4 separate regions of the Homo sapiens genome follow, and regions 2, 3 and 4 are each linked to region 1. The links are contacts of gene promoters, found by promoter capture Hi-C in blood cells and fetal thymus (Javierre and others, 2016). All regions are on one chromosome and are shown on one strand. Each heading gives the region's core, a stretch centred on a gene start or on the middle of the fragment in contact. The rest is flanking DNA. Distances are from core to core; before and after follow the strand shown. Region 1 overlaps UNC79 (unc-79 subunit of NALCN channel complex). Region 2 holds the start of ITPK1 (inositol-tetrakisphosphate 1-kinase). Region 3 holds the start of COX8C (cytochrome c oxidase subunit 8C). Region 4 holds the start of MOAP1 (modulator of apoptosis 1).

What was found. The method cuts DNA at HindIII sites, captures the fragments that hold promoters and counts their contacts. A CHiCAGO score of 5 or more calls a contact.
Region 2: a contact is called between the fragment with the promoter of ITPK1 here and a fragment that was not itself captured in region 1, in 2 of 17 cell types (total B cells and naive B cells). The highest score is 9.3, in total B cells.
Region 3: a contact is called between the fragment with the promoter of COX8C here and a fragment that was not itself captured in region 1, in 1 of 17 cell types (M1 macrophages). The highest score is 5.5, in M1 macrophages.
Region 4: a contact is called between the fragment with the promoter of MOAP1 here and a fragment that was not itself captured in region 1, in 1 of 17 cell types (M2 macrophages). The highest score is 6.7, in M2 macrophages.

What each region holds. Positions count from the first base shown.
Region 1 is chr14:93,617,157-93,620,961 of GRCh38, forward strand. It overlaps UNC79 (unc-79 subunit of NALCN channel complex), which reads left to right. Exons shown (of 52, transcript NM_001395159.1): 29 at 1-148; 30 at 1,036-1,198; 31 at 3,736-3,805. Among named protein-coding and RNA genes, the nearest start is that of PRIMA1, 170 kb to the right of the region's middle. The HindIII fragment of the contact is 2,180 bases long and covers 982-3,161 here.
Region 2 is chr14:93,113,370-93,117,263 of GRCh38, forward strand. ITPK1 (inositol-tetrakisphosphate 1-kinase) reads right to left here and starts at 2,556. Exons shown (of 11, transcript NM_014216.6): 1 at 2,403-2,556; 2 at 1,700-1,936. The coding sequence starts at 1,794. The HindIII fragment of the contact is 12,611 bases long and covers 47-3,894 here.
Region 3 is chr14:93,344,392-93,348,501 of GRCh38, forward strand. COX8C (cytochrome c oxidase subunit 8C) reads left to right here and starts at 2,791. Exons shown (of 2, transcript NM_182971.3): 1 at 2,791-3,003; 2 at 3,637-3,965. The coding sequence starts at 2,878. The coding sequence ends at 3,729. It also overlaps a transcript of UNC79 not described here. The HindIII fragment of the contact is 4,764 bases long and covers 1-4,110 here.
Region 4 is chr14:93,183,569-93,187,794 of GRCh38, forward strand. It overlaps MOAP1 (modulator of apoptosis 1), which reads right to left and starts at 1,329. Exons shown (of 3, transcript NM_022151.5): 1 at 1,242-1,329; 2 at 991-1,145; 3 at 1-794. The coding sequence starts at 674. It overlaps LYSET (lysosomal enzyme trafficking factor), which reads left to right and starts at 1,749. Exons shown (of 2, transcript NM_001098621.4): 1 at 1,749-1,917; 2 at 2,692-4,226. The coding sequence starts at 1,838. The coding sequence ends at 3,103. The HindIII fragment of the contact is 7,901 bases long and covers 1-3,790 here.

The sequences.
Region 1 (3,805 bases), core at 822-3,321:
TCTCCCCTTAGTGGTTCAGGTGCTCAAATACTGCTCTTGTCCTCAACTCCGGCATTATTTCCAACAGCCGCCTCGTTGCTCCCTCTGGTCCCTAAAGCCTCACATCCGGCAGATGTGGTTGAAGGCCTTGCTTGTCATCCTTTACAAGGTGAGCTGGGTGGTCACTGCTGTTTTGGATGCAATGGTTCTCTTAGAGAGCATATAGCATTAGGAGAACACCTGAGTCTTTAGTTGAAAATTTTGTAGAAGTTTGACCTTCAGAAGGAAGATCAGGATATGCAATTACTGTTAAGAACCAAAGAGCTATTGAAATGAAAATAGAAATGGGAGGCCCTGTTAATATATGCTCTAAAAATGTTTAAAACAAAGAATGATAAATGGTAGGCTACTGATCAAGAACCTCTGTTTATACTCAGTCTTGTATTTTGTCTAAGTATTATTATTTCAGAAAACAAAAGATATCTGAAATTGTATTCATCCACTAAAGGTTTATGCCAGATAATTTTCTTGAAAAGAAATGTAACTATGAACTGGCATGCATTGCTGTCAGTGGTTTGGTGAAGGAGGAAATGAATATGGTCCCTTGTAAAAATAAGGCCATGGGGGAGGGCGTGGTGGCTCACTGCTGTAATCCCAGCACTTATGGGAGGCCGAGGTGGGTAGGTTGCCTGACTCCGGGAGTTCGAGCCCAGCCTGAGCAACATGGTGAAATCCCATCTCTACAAAAAATTAGCCAAGCATGGTTGCACGTGCCTGGTCCCACCTACTTGGGAGGCTGAGGTGGGAGGATCACCTGAGCCCGGTAGGCTGCTATGATCACGCCACAGCACTCCAACCTGGGTGACAGAGTGAGACCCTGTCTCTAACTAAACAAATAAATAAGGCCATGAGCAGAATTTGTTTCTACTTCTCTCTCTCTCTCATATATATATTTATCCCCAAGAGATACTGCAAAAAGTATCCAGCAAGATCAGGTGGAAAAGCTTACCCTCTAAAATAACCATTTATCTTTTTCTCTCTCGTTTCATTGGGCAGTATCCATACCGAGACTGTGATATCAGCAAGATCCTGCTGCATCTGATTCACATAACAGTCAATACACTCAATGCGCAGTATCATAGCTGCAAGCCCCATGCCACGGCAGGACCTTTGTACAGTGACAACAGTAACATAAGCAGATACAGCGAAAAAGAAAAAGGTACATATCTAAATTCTATCCCAAACCTAGCTTCAATACATAATAGATTTCTGGACAATGTTTTCTTAGGAGATAGAAGAGTGTTCCCAGATATCATTCTGGAGTAAAAAAAAAAATCACTTTCTTAATTTTCCAACTTTCCATGAATGTTGCTGCTTTAACTTTGAAATTGAGCATTCAAGAGGAATAAATGATGTGCTTCCAAAGCCTGTATCATAAGAAATAATATTTTGTAAGATATTTTCTGCTGTTTGAATCAGGAGCCTTTGTAAGCCTTTTCTTACGTGTTAGAAGCATCTCGTTTTTGGGCTATAAAATAAGTCTTGGTTGGCACACAGTGGAGCCATTCTTTGTAGGTCTCTAGTTTGCCCTGGTCTTTGCGCTCATAGAGTTTCAATGGAGTCTAAGTTTGCTGAAGTGCTTTTTCCTAGACTTTTAATTTAATACAAAGTGATTCAAGGCAAGGGAAATGAAACATTTTTGCTGCATAGGTGTAAGCTATCTCCATTATCAACACTTTTTCTATTGCTACCTTTTTCTAAAAGGGGCAGTAGAATGCAACTTTAGCTAGGGTAAAATTGCAGCCTGTTTTCAGGTGAGACACGAAGAACCAGGGTGTATATTTTTAGTTTTTAGTGTAAGTCACGGCTGACTAGATTTTAAATTGACATCATTTAATCTAGTCTTTGGAAAAAACCAAGTGTCCACTGACCCTTTATGAGGTTAGTAGAGTCTGTTTTAGTAGGACTGCTCTGGAGATACCTCAAAAGTATAAATTGTACCAGTGTTCCTGTTTGTTATTGCTGAAAGTTCCAAAAATCTAGTTTGGCTACAGACGGAACTCGAGAACTAGGTTCTTTAAGTTCTGGTACCATTCAGATCCCTCCTAAAGAATATCTTGTCTACCAGTTTAGGGTTTAGTCTCTGGCAAATTGGGGAGATCTGTTAAGCTATGGATGTTTTCAGCGTGGGCTTAGTGTTTGGGCCAAACCCTGATGAACCTTTCTGGATGGGAGGCGCCATCTTGTGGTCTTTCAGTCTTGAGTGTTCAATGCATTTTGAAAATTGTTTCAAAGTTATGTAATGCAAGTCACGTAACTATTGGTTGGAAAAACTGCATTTTTCAAAGGATATTTTTCCAAAAAGGAAATAGAGAAGTAAAACAGATTATTGTGTTGCGTTTCCCCAGAAACATGGGAATTTGATAGGCATTCCCATCTTTGTGGAAGTTCACTGGGTTTAAAAACAAATTCATTTTGATTAACATTTATTTTTATTTAATTAAAAAGTTTAGTATGGTTATTTCATCTAAAATTTACTACTTCAAGTTTCATTTACTTGTAGAATTTTGTGCATTAGAACAGGGTCAGTCCTTAAAACTTGATGTATATACTGCCCTTATGCTAAAAAAAACCTTGAATAATCATAATCGCACCTGAGCCTCATTTGTCATATAGGTAGATGTAAATACAGGCCAAACATTATGAGTTCAGTGATATTCAACTTGAATAGTAGGTAAACTCATTATGATGCTATTAAATGCATTTTAGTAGCCTTTTCTGTTGCCACTTTGTACGTGGCTTTGGCCTTTCAAAAGGACGAAAGAAGAAAATTGGTTAAGTAAACTTTATGGGTTGCAACATATGAACTCTTTCCTCATTAACATATTTTGGGGTTTATCTTGGATTTAAAAATGGCCACATGGGTGTAGAAGGGAGGACGTAGAAACAAGTTCAACAGGCACTCAAAGTGACCGGTTTGTTTATGTAGGATTAGGGATCATAAGTGTCAAAGATTCTTTCTGGGATTCATGAGATCCGTAATAGTTACACGTGGTAAGCGCCTCAGAGAAGAGTCTTACTTTAATAGGAGGAAATGTTATTTTCTGTTTTCTTTTTCCTTTGTTTACTCTTTCAGTCCATAATCATTCGTGGAGCTTTTGAGATGACAAGTGGCTTTTCTAAGCTTTTTCTGTGTGTTGCGTGTCTCATTATCAAATGTAGAGTACAGTATTTTGCATTCACACCGTATAAGGTGCATGTACTGTTAGGCTGTGTCTATGCCAGTTACCAAATCCCATAAAGGCAGATTTTTTTTTCTTTTTTGGAAAGCCCAAGATCCACTCATTTTGTTTAATTTCCTTTCGCCAAATCAGCCTGAAAATCCACGCAAAGCAGACAAGTCCAAGCAGTGTCACAGGCTCCTGGAAAAAGTAGCTGACATCTATGTGTCATCTGGTGTTAAGCACACTGGAAAAGTTTCCCAAAAAGGCGCTATTGGACTCTCAAGAAGCCTCTCCTTAAAAATGCTGCCAATTGTCATGTGAAAAGTGATGGGCAATCTTGTAACAGCTTGCTCTGTCCAATAGATGGAGAATTTGATGCCTGGATGAAATACCAACCCATGGCTAGACTTGGGCTGGTGCAGAAACTAACCCAGACCTTGTTCCATAATGCTTTCATTGAAATGCTTGTGTAGACACAGCCTAAGAGAGAATAACCTCTTAAGTGTAATTTTGACTTTCTCTCCCCAATTAGAAGAAGATAGTGTTTTTGATGAATCTGATATTCATGATACACCTACTGGACCCTGCAATAAAGAGTCTCA
Region 2 (3,894 bases), core at 1,306-3,805, 500 kb before region 1:
CCTCCTAATTACCAAGCAAAACAAGCCAACCCAATGACAAGCCTCAAGCTTGAGTTGCAGACACAAGATGACATAAATACAGACAGCAGTACAAAGGGTGCGAGGTATTCGCTGGGATTTCCCAAGTCTTACATGACTGCAGGGGGAGCTCCGGTGCCTCACATCAGAACTGGACTTCGAGAACATGCCAAAGCAGCTGCTCCAAATTTCTTTAGTGTCTTAGAATGCCCTTCCCACAAGTGAGTGTATCCGCGGTACAACGTTCAAGTACCCTTTTGTAATGTTCCAAGGGTCCTAAGACTCATTTTCAAAGCTCTGGCTTCGAGCTCCTCCTGATTTCTTCATGAATTGCTGGGGCCACTCTGCATGCCCTATTGATCATGAAGAGCCTGTCTTCTAGGGAAACCGGCCTGGGAGAAGGCAGCCAACCCCATCCCCAGACCAAGGGATAAAGAACCAGGCACTATCCTGTACAAGCTGTGCCCCTCTGGCTGCAGGAAGAGCGCCTGCGGGGCTTGCACGGGGCAAAGGAGCAGCAGGCCCTTGGGAAAGGCATGAGGCACACAGAGGTGCTGCCAGGCTCACCTGCGCATGCCAGCTCAGACCAGCCACGGGCCCCCAGGAGCACCAGGGGTTACGGAAACCCAACTGTTCAATTCTCCAAGATGTGTGGGGCCCCCACAGGGACAAAAATGCAAGTAGAGCCCATTTTCAAAAATCAGTCTAACAAGCTGCATCACAAAAGGTTTCCACCTGGAGTTTGCAAAAGGCTTTCAGAGCTAGATTCTCTTAGGCTTGCATTGAGAAAAGGGCTTAACTGCTTCTCAGAGGCAAAGCTACAGTTGTGGAGCAAGGGAAGGCCTACCTGACCCAAGACTCAGTAGTTCTGTAATTTATTAAGAACGTGATCTGTTAAACACCGGAGACTCCGCCAAGGAGCACCAGCATGGTGGGAGCAGGGGCACACAGCCCAGATGGCAGAAGGCCACTCCACACCACGGGCATTTACCCAGCACTTTCTACGCACCAGCCACTCCCTAGCTGCGGGACCCCAAGCTAGGTACCCCGCTCCTCTGCCGATCGGTCCCCGTTCTCAGACAGGTGGCCCAGAATCACCACCCTGGCCAATTTGCAGGGCTGCTGCGAGGCTCTAATGAGACAGCAAATCACCACATACATGCCAAGAATTGCTACTCGCTTCAACTGGGCTTAACCTCATGATATGCAATGACAGCCTCAAGAGCCGAGCACACGCGGGGCACATAGTAGGTGGTCCACAAACGTGGGTGCCCTTTCTTCATGAAAGGGAAGGGGACGAAGGAAGAAAAACACTCCGGTCCAAAAGTACCCTCAAGCCCTTACCCCACAGCGTGGATGCCCCGATTTCCCAGGTCCCTCCGCAACCCTCAGTAGAACTCCCACCGCGCCCTGGGCTGCTGGGGGCCTCCCCAGCCGGGTCACAGTGCACCTGAACGCCCCGGTCCGTGCCACCTCGCCCGCACCGGCCACCGCTTCCCTGGAACGCGGCCGGCGGCCGCCACCGCCACCTGGCTGCTCGGACTCAGTCTCCCCGCGCGCCGCTTCTTCCCGTTTGGCTCCGATCTCCCAAAACAACTAATGAGGCTGCACCGGGCTCGGGCCGGGGGTCACCGGGCTCGGGCCGGGGGTCCCCGGGCGCCGGCGCCGCGTCCCTCCTTACCTGCACAGCTCGGCGAAGGCCTGGAAATTCAGCTTCTTGATTTTCTTCTCGCTCAGCCAGTAGCCAACTCTCTTCCCTTTCAGAAAGGTCTGCATCTTCCTCCTCGGGCGGGGAGCCTGGGTCCGGAGGAAATCGCCCACAGGCCGAGTCTGGCGGCCGGCGCGCGCCGCGAGCGAGTGGGCACCTCCTCCCGGCGGCGGGGACGCGGAACGGGGATCGGAGCTGGGGCGCGCAGTCCTGCCGCGCGGAGCGGAGCGGGGCGGGGCGCGGCGGGCGGCCGGGAGGAGGGAGCGGCGCTCAGCGCGGAAGGCCACTGGCTGGGCCAAGCTGCCACCGCCCACGCCCCCGCCGCCTGCGGGCTCGCCCGCCCGCCCACCGGCTCGCGAGCGCCGCGCCGCCCGGCCTGCCGGCTGAGGCTGGGGCACGGCTGAGCCTGAGTCTGAGTCGGAGCTGGGGCCAGGGCCCGCAGGAGGGGAAGCCGGGCCTCCGCAGACACCGCCCCCGCCCTGCCCGCCCTCCCGCCGCGCGGGCCCGAGCCACACGCCCTCAGGCGGCGGCAGAAGCGCGGCCTCCGAGCCCTTCCTCCCTCCTCCTCCCGCCCGGGTCCTCGCCCTCTGATGTTCCCAGCCGGGCCGTAACCCCTGGGCGCGCTTGGACCCCGGCGGGGCGCACGCGGCCACTCGGCCCGGCCAGAGATCCTCACCCGCCGCCGCCGCCGCCACTTCCTCCTCGGCCTGGTCCTCGCGCGCTGCCCGCCGAGAAGGGCGGCGGCGAGCGCCCGCGCACTCGCCGCCCCTGCCCGCCGCCGCCCCGCGCTGGCCCGGCCGCCCCGCTTGAGCCCGCGGCGGCGAGGAAGCGGCGGGGCGGCCGCCAGGGGGCAGCGCCGCCCGCCGCCTCTTAAAGGCGCCGCGCCGGCCCTCGCGGCTACCCGGCGCCTGTTTGTGTCCCCGGGTGTGGGGTGCGGGGCGCGGGGCTTCCTGGGGGCGGCCGTGGCCCGGCGGTCTTACTTCGGGAAGGGAGCCGCGGTGTGGGCGTGTGTTCCGCCTGGCCTTTGGGGGCGACCGAGCCGCTGAGTTTCGGAAACGTCTCTGTACCCCCAGCAGGGTTCAGCACCCCCAAGGCAATCCATTGCAACTGCGCCCGGAAGGAGACCTTCCAGGAATTCGCCCCTTCCCTCGAGGAAGCGGACCCTGGCCCAGGATGGGGCCCCCCGGGGGGGTGGGTGAACACCCAGGGGCCCTCCTAGGCGTAGGACGTGACCACCAGTTCTCACTCTAGGTCCCCTTCACTGAGGGGGGAAGGGGCGGGGACTGGAGGCGACAGCGACAACAGCGGCCGTCCCCGGAGACCCCTTCCTCAGGGGTGCGGGTCAGCGTCGGCGCCGGGGAGTCACTAAACCCCGCCTACCCTGCCCTGCCCTATGGGGCAGCCAGGGAGCTTTCCTGCCTCAATGGTCTCTGGGTTTGGGAAGGAGAAATGGACTTCTCTCCCCAGGCCCAGGCAGGAAAAATGGATTCCCGTGGAGGGAAGGCTCAGAAAAGTTTGAGAGGAGACACTGAAGCTGGCCTTGGAAATCAAGGAGATTTTGATGGAGCAGGGAAGGGGGATGAGCTTGAATTGAGGCTGGGAGACAAGAAAAAGCCAAGTTGCCAGCGGGTGACCAAGACTTCCCTTGATCACACTTGAGTCAGGCTCCTCCGAGACCTCTTTCTGACCAGGCCCCGACCTTGGGCTCTGTCCTTGGCCTTCTTAGTCCAGTTTTAGCCAGAATCCTGCTGTCAAGAATATCTCCACGCTTGGTATGTGATCACCCTGGCCGGCCTACATTAAGAAACTCCGTCTCAAAAAAAAAAGAAAGACAAGGATCTCTCTATGCTGCCCAGGCTGGAGTGCAATGGTGCAGTCATAGCTCACTGCAGCCTCGAACACCCCTGCTAAACTGATCCTCCCACCTCAGCCTCCCGAGCAGCTGGGACTACACTGTGTTGCCCAGGCAGGTCTCGAACTCCTGGCCTCAAGCTGTCCTCCCACCTGGGCCTCCCAAAGTGCTGGGATTGTAGACCTGAGCCACCCCGCCTGGCTTCCCTGCCATCTTTAACGAGAATCTGATTAGTTTTTTTCTTTAACAAGGTAGAGAAAACGGATGGATGGAGAGTGGAAAAGACGATGGGTGGGAAACAGGACTCCTCCAGGGG
Region 3 (4,110 bases), core at 1,541-4,040, 270 kb before region 1:
GGCCCAGAACTCAAGGAGAGGAAAGTGTCCTAACTTCAGAATAGGGAGAATTCAAACCAGGGCTTTGAACACAGGCAGGATATTCCCTCTGGTTCTTATCTCTGGTTCTTTGAGCAGCTTGGCTACATTATTAACTCACTGTGGAAGGGCTTTCTTGCTAGGCAGGGAAAAAAAAACATGGCTCCCAAGTTACAACATCCATCCCAACCAACAGACTGGGTCCCAGCCCTCTCTTTGGTCCAATATTTGAGTCAAGTAGTGTAACAACTGTGGCCAGGAAACAGAGCAATGTTGCACTAAATCATTTCTTACAGGACTCGTGTAAATCACAGGTGCTCAAATTATTATCTGGGGATATCTAAGGCAAAATTAGAGTTTACCTGATGTGACTGGGCAGGATGAGCCAAGGGAAGACTGAGAACAAGGAGATGAGGTTAGGGAGGTGGCCAGCCATGGTTCATGCAGGTCCTTGATTGGTTAGGGTAAGATTCCAGAGCACAGTTGCCCAGTGGAAATGTAACATGGGCTGGGCATGATGGTTAACTCCTGTAATCCTAACATTTTGGGAGGCCGAGGCAGGTGGATTGCTTGAGGCCAGGAGTTCAAGACCAGCCTGGGCAACATGGTGAAACATGCCCCAGAGTTAGGAGGCGGGGCCTTTGGGAAGTAATTAGATCATACCACAGCCCTCATGAATAGGATTAGTACCCTTATAAAAGAGGCCCTAGAGAGCTACCTTGTTGCTTCCATCATACGAGGACACAACCAGAACAAGGAAGTGGGCCCTCACTGGACATCAAATCTACCAGCACATTGATTTTGAATTTCTAGCATCCAGAACTGTAAGAAATACATTTCCGTCATTTATAAGCCATCCAGTCTGTTGTATTGTAACAGCCTGAACAGACTGAGACAGTAACAGAAAGGAACAAAAGTAACTGACCTGCTTCTTCATATTCATAAGCATGAAATGACAACCAAGGATCATAAGATACTTGAATAAAACTGGCAAGTTCAAAATAAATAAATAGAATGTACGCTAAAGAAACACAGTTCATGGAATAGAGATAACTTTTTAAAAGTTCAGATTAATATTCTGAAAGAAATCTAAAGTGATAATATCTATAAAATACTAACAGGTGACTGTAAAAGCAAAAAATAGTATGTTTTAAAACTATAATTCTAAAATAAAAAATCATGGGCTAGAAGAAAAAGTCAAGGAAATCCTGCAAAATGTAGAACAAGGGACAAAACGTTGATGAGTGAGAAAAAGGTTGAAAGACAGAGGTGACCCGCTAAGAAGGGCCAGTGTCCGTCAATAAGAATTTTAGGTTGAGAACAAAGAAAACAGAGAAGCAAATAAATAGGAATAGTGCTCCTATGGCTAAAGAACCATGACTTCAGATAGAAAGGTCTTACCCACTGCTAATCCATATGAATGGAAAAATACCCATATCTAACAGTATCCTGGAGGAACGTCACAATTCCAAAGACAAAAAGGAATGCCTAAAAGATTCCCAAAAGGAAAAAAGAGGGTACTCAAAGGAATGACAACTATATTGGCATTATATTTATCGGCTCACTAGATGCTGGAAAAGAAAGGAACAATGCCTTTTGAAAATCTCTGAAGGACAATGATTTTGAGCCCAGAGTTCTATAACCATTCAAATTAGCATTTAAATGGAGACCAATATATATATATTTTGATTTCCAAGGACTGAGGAACTTTATCACCTACAAACCCTTCCTGAAAGAACAGCTTAAGGATGTACTACAGCAAAACGAAAAGAAATCTAAGAAAGAGGAAGATACCAGGCTGCAGGAACAGAGGAATCCAGAGAAACCCTAGAGTGTTACTCGTGCAATAGGCCCCCAAAAGAAATAATGTGAAGACACAGGATCATTGTAGTGGATAAAGTTTTATTACAGTACTAAATTTAAAAATCACAGTATATTTACTTTTCCCTCAAGAGGGTCTGGGCACAGTGCCTCATGCCTGTAATCCCAGTACTTTGGGAGGCTGAGACAAGAGGATGGCTTGAGCCCAGGAGTTTGAGATCAGCCTGGGTGACACAGTGAGACCTGTCTCTACAAAAAAATAAGAAAATTAGCCGTAGTGACAGATAATTACATCACTGTTTCTACTGGGTCCAAACACTCTATTTGACCCTGCCATGAATATTTTTTATATCATCAGCCGACTATAGAAACTTGTTCTTGGTTTTCAGTGTTAAGAATTAACCTATAGACATTTTATGGAAGATTTAATTTGCATTAGAAACAGTGTGCTATAAACTCTGCCAATGCCAGGGCATGTTAAGAGGTATATAAAGTATAGGTAGAGAGGAAGACAAAGGAAAGGAGTAGGGGTGCCAAGTCCCTCACCTTACCCTGCAGAAAAGAGATACTTAGTGTGAGGTGGGGTTGGGGCTCAGGGGAGGGTGGCAGGAGAGTTTAGGAGAGGATAGGACACGTGGGTGGAAAGTGAGGTGAATGAGGGCTGGGAGGTTGCAGGGAGCCCTGAGTGGAAAAGGCGGGGCAGAGCAGGGGGTACTGAACTGAAGAGAGTGGAGCAGAGCAGGGGTGTGCTGGGTGGAAGGGGTGGTGCAGAGCAAGTGGTGCTAAGCAGAGGGGGTGGGGCAAAGCACGGACTGCTGAGTGGAAAGGGCAGTACAGAGAAAGGAGTGGTGAGCGGAAGAGGCGGGGCAGAGCAGGAGGTGCTGGGCAGAAGGGGTGGGGTAGGGGGCGAGGGCAGAGCGCCCCCTCGTGGCTGGGGCGCCTGCGCAAACCAGCTGCCTCACGAGCACTGGAGCTTGCGTTACTTGGCCTCACCTCACCTGTGCTGTCCACGCCTGGCTTTGTCTCACCTGACGCGATATGCCTCTCCTGCGTGGGCGCTGTCCTGCCCGCCGCCACTACCGCCGCTTGGCCCTGCTCGGCCTGCAGCCCGCTCCCCGCTTCGCCCACTCGGGGCCCCCGCGCCAGCGGCCCCTGTCTGCCGCGGTGAGTTGAGGCCCAGCCATCATGGTGGGCGGGAAGCGCGTGGCCCTGGCGGGGCGCCCCGACGGGTGGGGAGAAGGGAGGACACGGCGTGCAGGCCTCGCGTGGGAGGCTCTTGTGGCTTGGTCGCCGTTGGGGGAGGTTCCTGTGGCTTGGTCGCCTTTGGGGGAGGTTCCTGGGAGAGGGTCGCGGTGAGGATGCCGTCGTCGGGCACAGGGGCGGAAAGCCCGGGACCCTGAGGAACGCGCGGGGATTGGGCCTCCTTCGTTGTTACCCTTTACCGGCACCTGGCTCGGGGGCGGGGCTGTGGTTTCGCGGAGGAATGATTTACCATCCTCGGACGTCCTCGGCACTGCGAAGATCTAGCGTTTTCGATAAAATGGTGGAAATCCTGGGCCACATCGAAGTTCCAGAGTGCGAAGGTTGGAACCGGAGACCCCTTAGATGAAAAATGAATTAAAAAAAAAAATCAGGTGATCCATGAATCGATTTTCAGCATTTTAGATTTCACTAGGCGCCTGTTTCTAGGACAACGGTCTAGGTGCTCAAAATGTTTTTTTTAAGCACTTTTTGTTAGGCAGCAAGTCACTGGCCTAGGAAGCCATACTCAGCAGCGCGTGTCATCTTCTCTTCCAGGAAATGGCTGTTGGACTTGTGGTGTTTTTTACGACCTTCTTAACACCAGCTGCATATGTGCTAGGCAACCTGAAGCAGTTCAGAAGGAATTAGATGGAAGATGATGTTGAACAGCTGTTAACGTCCAAAAAACTTTCAGAAAAAGCTGTGTTTTTGTTAACGAGCAAAATTGCCTAGTTGAGTTGATGCAACCATTGTGGTATTCACTTTCCTCATGTTTATGATGAATATTTTGCACTTTTTTAGTACTGTGCATTATATAGATGTATAGTCAAAAATGTTCTGCTTAAGTGTTAAATAAAACGGAAACACTTATTCGTGCTTGGTAATATGTGTGCAGATTATTTTCTAAACATCGTGAAAGCTGATGAAAATTTACCGAGAACTGCTGTGAAAGGTCTGACTTAGTGACTCAGGGAGTGACATTGTTACTATATGGGAGTGAATGTATCTAGTGACATCACCCTTAAAAGA
Region 4 (4,226 bases), core at 79-2,578, 430 kb before region 1:
TTGTTTATCTTGAGGACACGAATAACATCAAGTGCTGGGCCTCGAAGGCTCTCTAGCAATCGCCTTCTCTTCTCTACATCTGGCACCTGCCACGCCTTTATCATCTGAGTAGTATGAAACATCCAGCGTCCAAATTCTTCTTCTCCTGGTTCTGGAGACTCCCTGCCCGAGAACACTCTCAGCTTTTTATACTTCAAGCATTGCAGGGCAGGCTGAAGAGCCTCTAATGCCTGTGCCAACATAGGGGCCCACATTTCCGGGATCATGCCCTGCTCTGGGTCTAAGGAGCCATTTTCATGTCCAAGAGCTCTGCTCAACTCACCCACTGTCATGCCCTCTCCCGCTAAAAATTCATTTAATCTGCTTAAAAATGTATTATCTGGGTCAGGGGGCTTAAAGATCACTCTCCAGATACCCCCTTTTCCCGGTATCTCCTTAGGGACCAGGGCGTGACTAGTCTCCGCAGTAAGCCCTACTAAGGCTACTTTCCTGTTCTCATCCCTCCTGAACATCCTTCCAAGCAGTCTGTACTCCCCCAAGGGAGCTAAACCAGCCTGCAGAGCCTCCTCGATTTCTGCCACACTGCAGCTCTGGGAGATGCCGGCAATCAATAGCGCTTTCCGAGGGTTCATGTCCATCCCCCTGCACCAGTCTTCTAAAAGCCTCAAAGTCATGGTGCCCGAAATAATAGACTTAAGTTCTAAATATGCCAGACCACAGGCGACCACCGAAATTCAAAGTAATCCTCCGCGGTACCCCAGAGAAATCTTGTCAACGTGCCGAGGTCCAGCAGCCTGCAAGACAGAGCAGACAGGTTAGCTAAAGGTGCCAACGTCCAGGGCAAGCGTGCAGGCCCCAAGCCCCGCGCGCCCTGCCCCCAGCGGCGACGCCAGGGCAGCCGCACTGCGGCGCGCGCCCCTCACCCCTCCCAGCCCTGGTGCCTGGCGGATGTCGGGCCTGCAGGGCCGCGTCGGGCCCGCTTCCACTCACCGTGATCTAGTGCTCGTGCCCGCGTCCGTGCGCCGGCGGCCAAGGTGCCTGGCCGGGCCCCGACGAGGCGCGGGAGGGCAGGCTCCCCTAGGCTCTGACGGACACTCGGGGGCCACAGCGACCGATGCCGGTACTCCAGGTGCCTGTGGTACTGTCTGCAACGAGAAGTGATGGGGCGATGACAGTCGCGAGCGGGCACCAGGGGGCAAGGCTGAGGAGCGCTGAGTCGCCAGACCCAGAGAGCCACCCACCTGGAGGGACGTGCCGCCACCCGCGCCGCCGGAGCTCCGGCTCCAGCCCGGATTCCACCTGTTTTGGTCTCGCTCGGGGAAGCTGCGCGGCGGGCGGGGGCGATCTGACGTCATGAGGGGCGGGCCTCGGGGGCGGGGCGCGCGCGCTTCCGGCCCGAGCCGGAAGCTCCGACTGCGGCGGCATCCGGGACGGCGGGCGGGCTGGCCACCACGGGACAGGAAGGTGAGATCCGGGACCTCAGCTTTGCAAGCAGGCTCCGCCGGCGACCGCTGACGGGCGCTGGGCTCGCGGCGCTGCAAGGCGGCGAGGCCCGGGCCTGGCGCCGCCTGCGCAGCCTTGGTCGCGGCGTGCCGGCGCTGCAGCGCGGCAGGGGGCGGGGCCGGCCGCCCGGAGGCCCAAGTGGCGGGGACGCCTCCCTGCCGGGTCAGGTTCTCAGAGCGGGTCTCCGGCGGCGGCGACGGGGGCCGGGCCGCGCGTGACCCGCCGCAGTCACGCCGTTCTTAATCACTAGTAGCTGGTGCTCCAGGCTGGCGGCGCTCACCTTTCTCCTAGCCGGGTGACCCAGGGGATTTATTTTATGTTGGCTTTCTCTGAAATGCCAAAGCCACCCGATTATTCAGAGCTGAGTGACTCTTTAACGCTTGCCGTGGGAACAGGAAGATTTTCGGGACCATTGTAAGTGCTTAGGAGTTACTGTCTTAACTTGGGGGCTTGACTTGTAGCACCCCGCGTTCACGTCTGAAGCAGTACTGTTATGCCAGAAAGTGTTTCACCTGTCAAAGTGAAATGTGCTGTGAGAAACTAGTTTAATTCCAGTTTCTGGAGGGCGGGTATTATGGACCTGTTTAAGTAGGATGCAGTGATTTATTCTGAGGGATTCCCGTTAAAAAGCAGAACTCAGTATATACTGAAATCAATGGTTTTTTGTTTTTTTGTGTGTGTTGTTTTACTTGATTGTAAGTATTACACAAAACAACCTGTAAGTTTTACATTTCTTAATAGGTGTTTAATTTAATTATTTTAAATCTTAAGTGTGTTAGTGGGATATTTTAGAATTCTTTTTTTTTTTTTTTAATTAGACAGAGTCTCGCTCTGTCGCCCAGGCTGGAGTGCAGTGGCGTGATCTCGGCTCTCTGCAAGCTCTGCCTCCTGGGTTCACGCCATTCTCCTGCCTCAGCCTCCCGAGTAGCTGGGACTACAGGTGCCCGCCACCACGCCCGGCTATTTTTTTTGTATTTTTAGTAGAGACGGGATTTCACCATGTTAGCCAGGATGGTCTCTATCACCTGACCTCGTGATCCACCCGCCTCAGCCTCCCAAAGTGCTGGGATTACAGGCGCGAGCCACCGCGCCCGGCCTAGAATTCTTGGAGATAAAGCAAGTACATTTGGAGTAGTTGCCGTGACAGCATTACTAGACCCTAATTGTATTTTCTTTTTTAATTTGAAGGCACAGAGCATGGAGAATGATGAACTTCCGTCAGCGGATGGGATGGATTGGAGTGGGATTGTATCTGTTAGCCAGTGCAGCAGCATTTTACTATGTTTTTGAAATCAGTGAGACTTACAACAGGCTGGCCTTGGAACACATTCAACAGCACCCTGAGGAGCCCCTTGAAGGAACCACATGGACACACTCCTTGAAAGCTCAATTACTCTCCTTGCCTTTTTGGGTGTGGACAGTTATTTTTCTGGTACCTTACTTACAGATGTTTTTGTTCCTATACTCTTGTACAAGAGCTGATCCCAAAACAGTGGGCTACTGTATCATCCCTATATGCTTGGCAGTTATTTGCAATCGCCACCAGGCATTTGTCAAGGCTTCTAATCAGATCAGCAGACTACAACTGATTGACACGTAAAATCAGTCACCGTTTTTTCCCTACGATTACAAAACTGCCAGTCCTATATGGAGTCTGATCACAAGACTGCAGTTTCTTCACAGATCTCAGGAAGTTGTCGTGGGGCAGAGGCTTTTTAAAAACATGTGATTAGGGAGCTATCTTTATCTGAATAATAACGAATTTTTAGGTAAAACCTGAGATAGAGTACTACAAAATCATGTTGATGACTTCAGATTTTGGAAGTTAAATCATGTCTGTTATTTGCATTCTTTAGAAACTTGACTAAGTACCTGAATTCATATTTCTATTCTACTGTGCAACATAGTGATGATTCAGAAATTTTTCCTTTGGGGAAAAAAATGAATATGAACATTTCCATTGTGTTAAGTGTAAAAAGGTCCAGACATGATCATAAAATTTAAATTTTATACAATTACTTGGCTTGCTTTAAAATTCTTCACACTTAAAACACCGATTCATTCTATTGCAGCTAAGCCAGCTGTCTAGACTTGCTGTCAGCTTATGAGGCATTGCTAAAAAATTATTGAGGAAATGGCTGTCTTGATAAGCAGAATTTGTTCTTCCTCTTGGTAATGGCTAAATTATTATTAATGCTTTTAATGGTTTTATTTTTTATATTTTTCTTTTTTGTGGAGAATGGGGTCTCGCTATGTTGCCCAGGCAGGTCTCGAACTCCTGGGCTCAAGCTTTCCTCCTCTCTCTGGCTCCCTAAGTGCTAGGATTACAGGTGTGAGCTACCATGCCCAGCTATTTTTAATTAAAAAAATTTTTTTTTTCCATGACTTGTGACACAGTCTCAGAAGGCCCTGAGAACGTACGCTCCAATGCTACTGATTTAGAAAACTATCTGGGAAGAAACTAAGTGTTAAATGTTGAAAGGCTAGAAATAACTTACAAATAGAAGATGGAAACAATGTGTTCAATGAAAATCTAGCAGGTTATTTATTATTTATTTAAATTATTATTATTATTTTTGAGACGGAGCCTTGCTTTGTCACCCAGGATGGAGTGCAGTGGTGCAGTCTTGGCTCACTGGAACCTTCGGCTCACTGCAACCTCCACCTCTCGGGTTTAAGCGATTCTCTTGCCTCAGCCTCCTGAGTAGCTGGGATTACAGGTG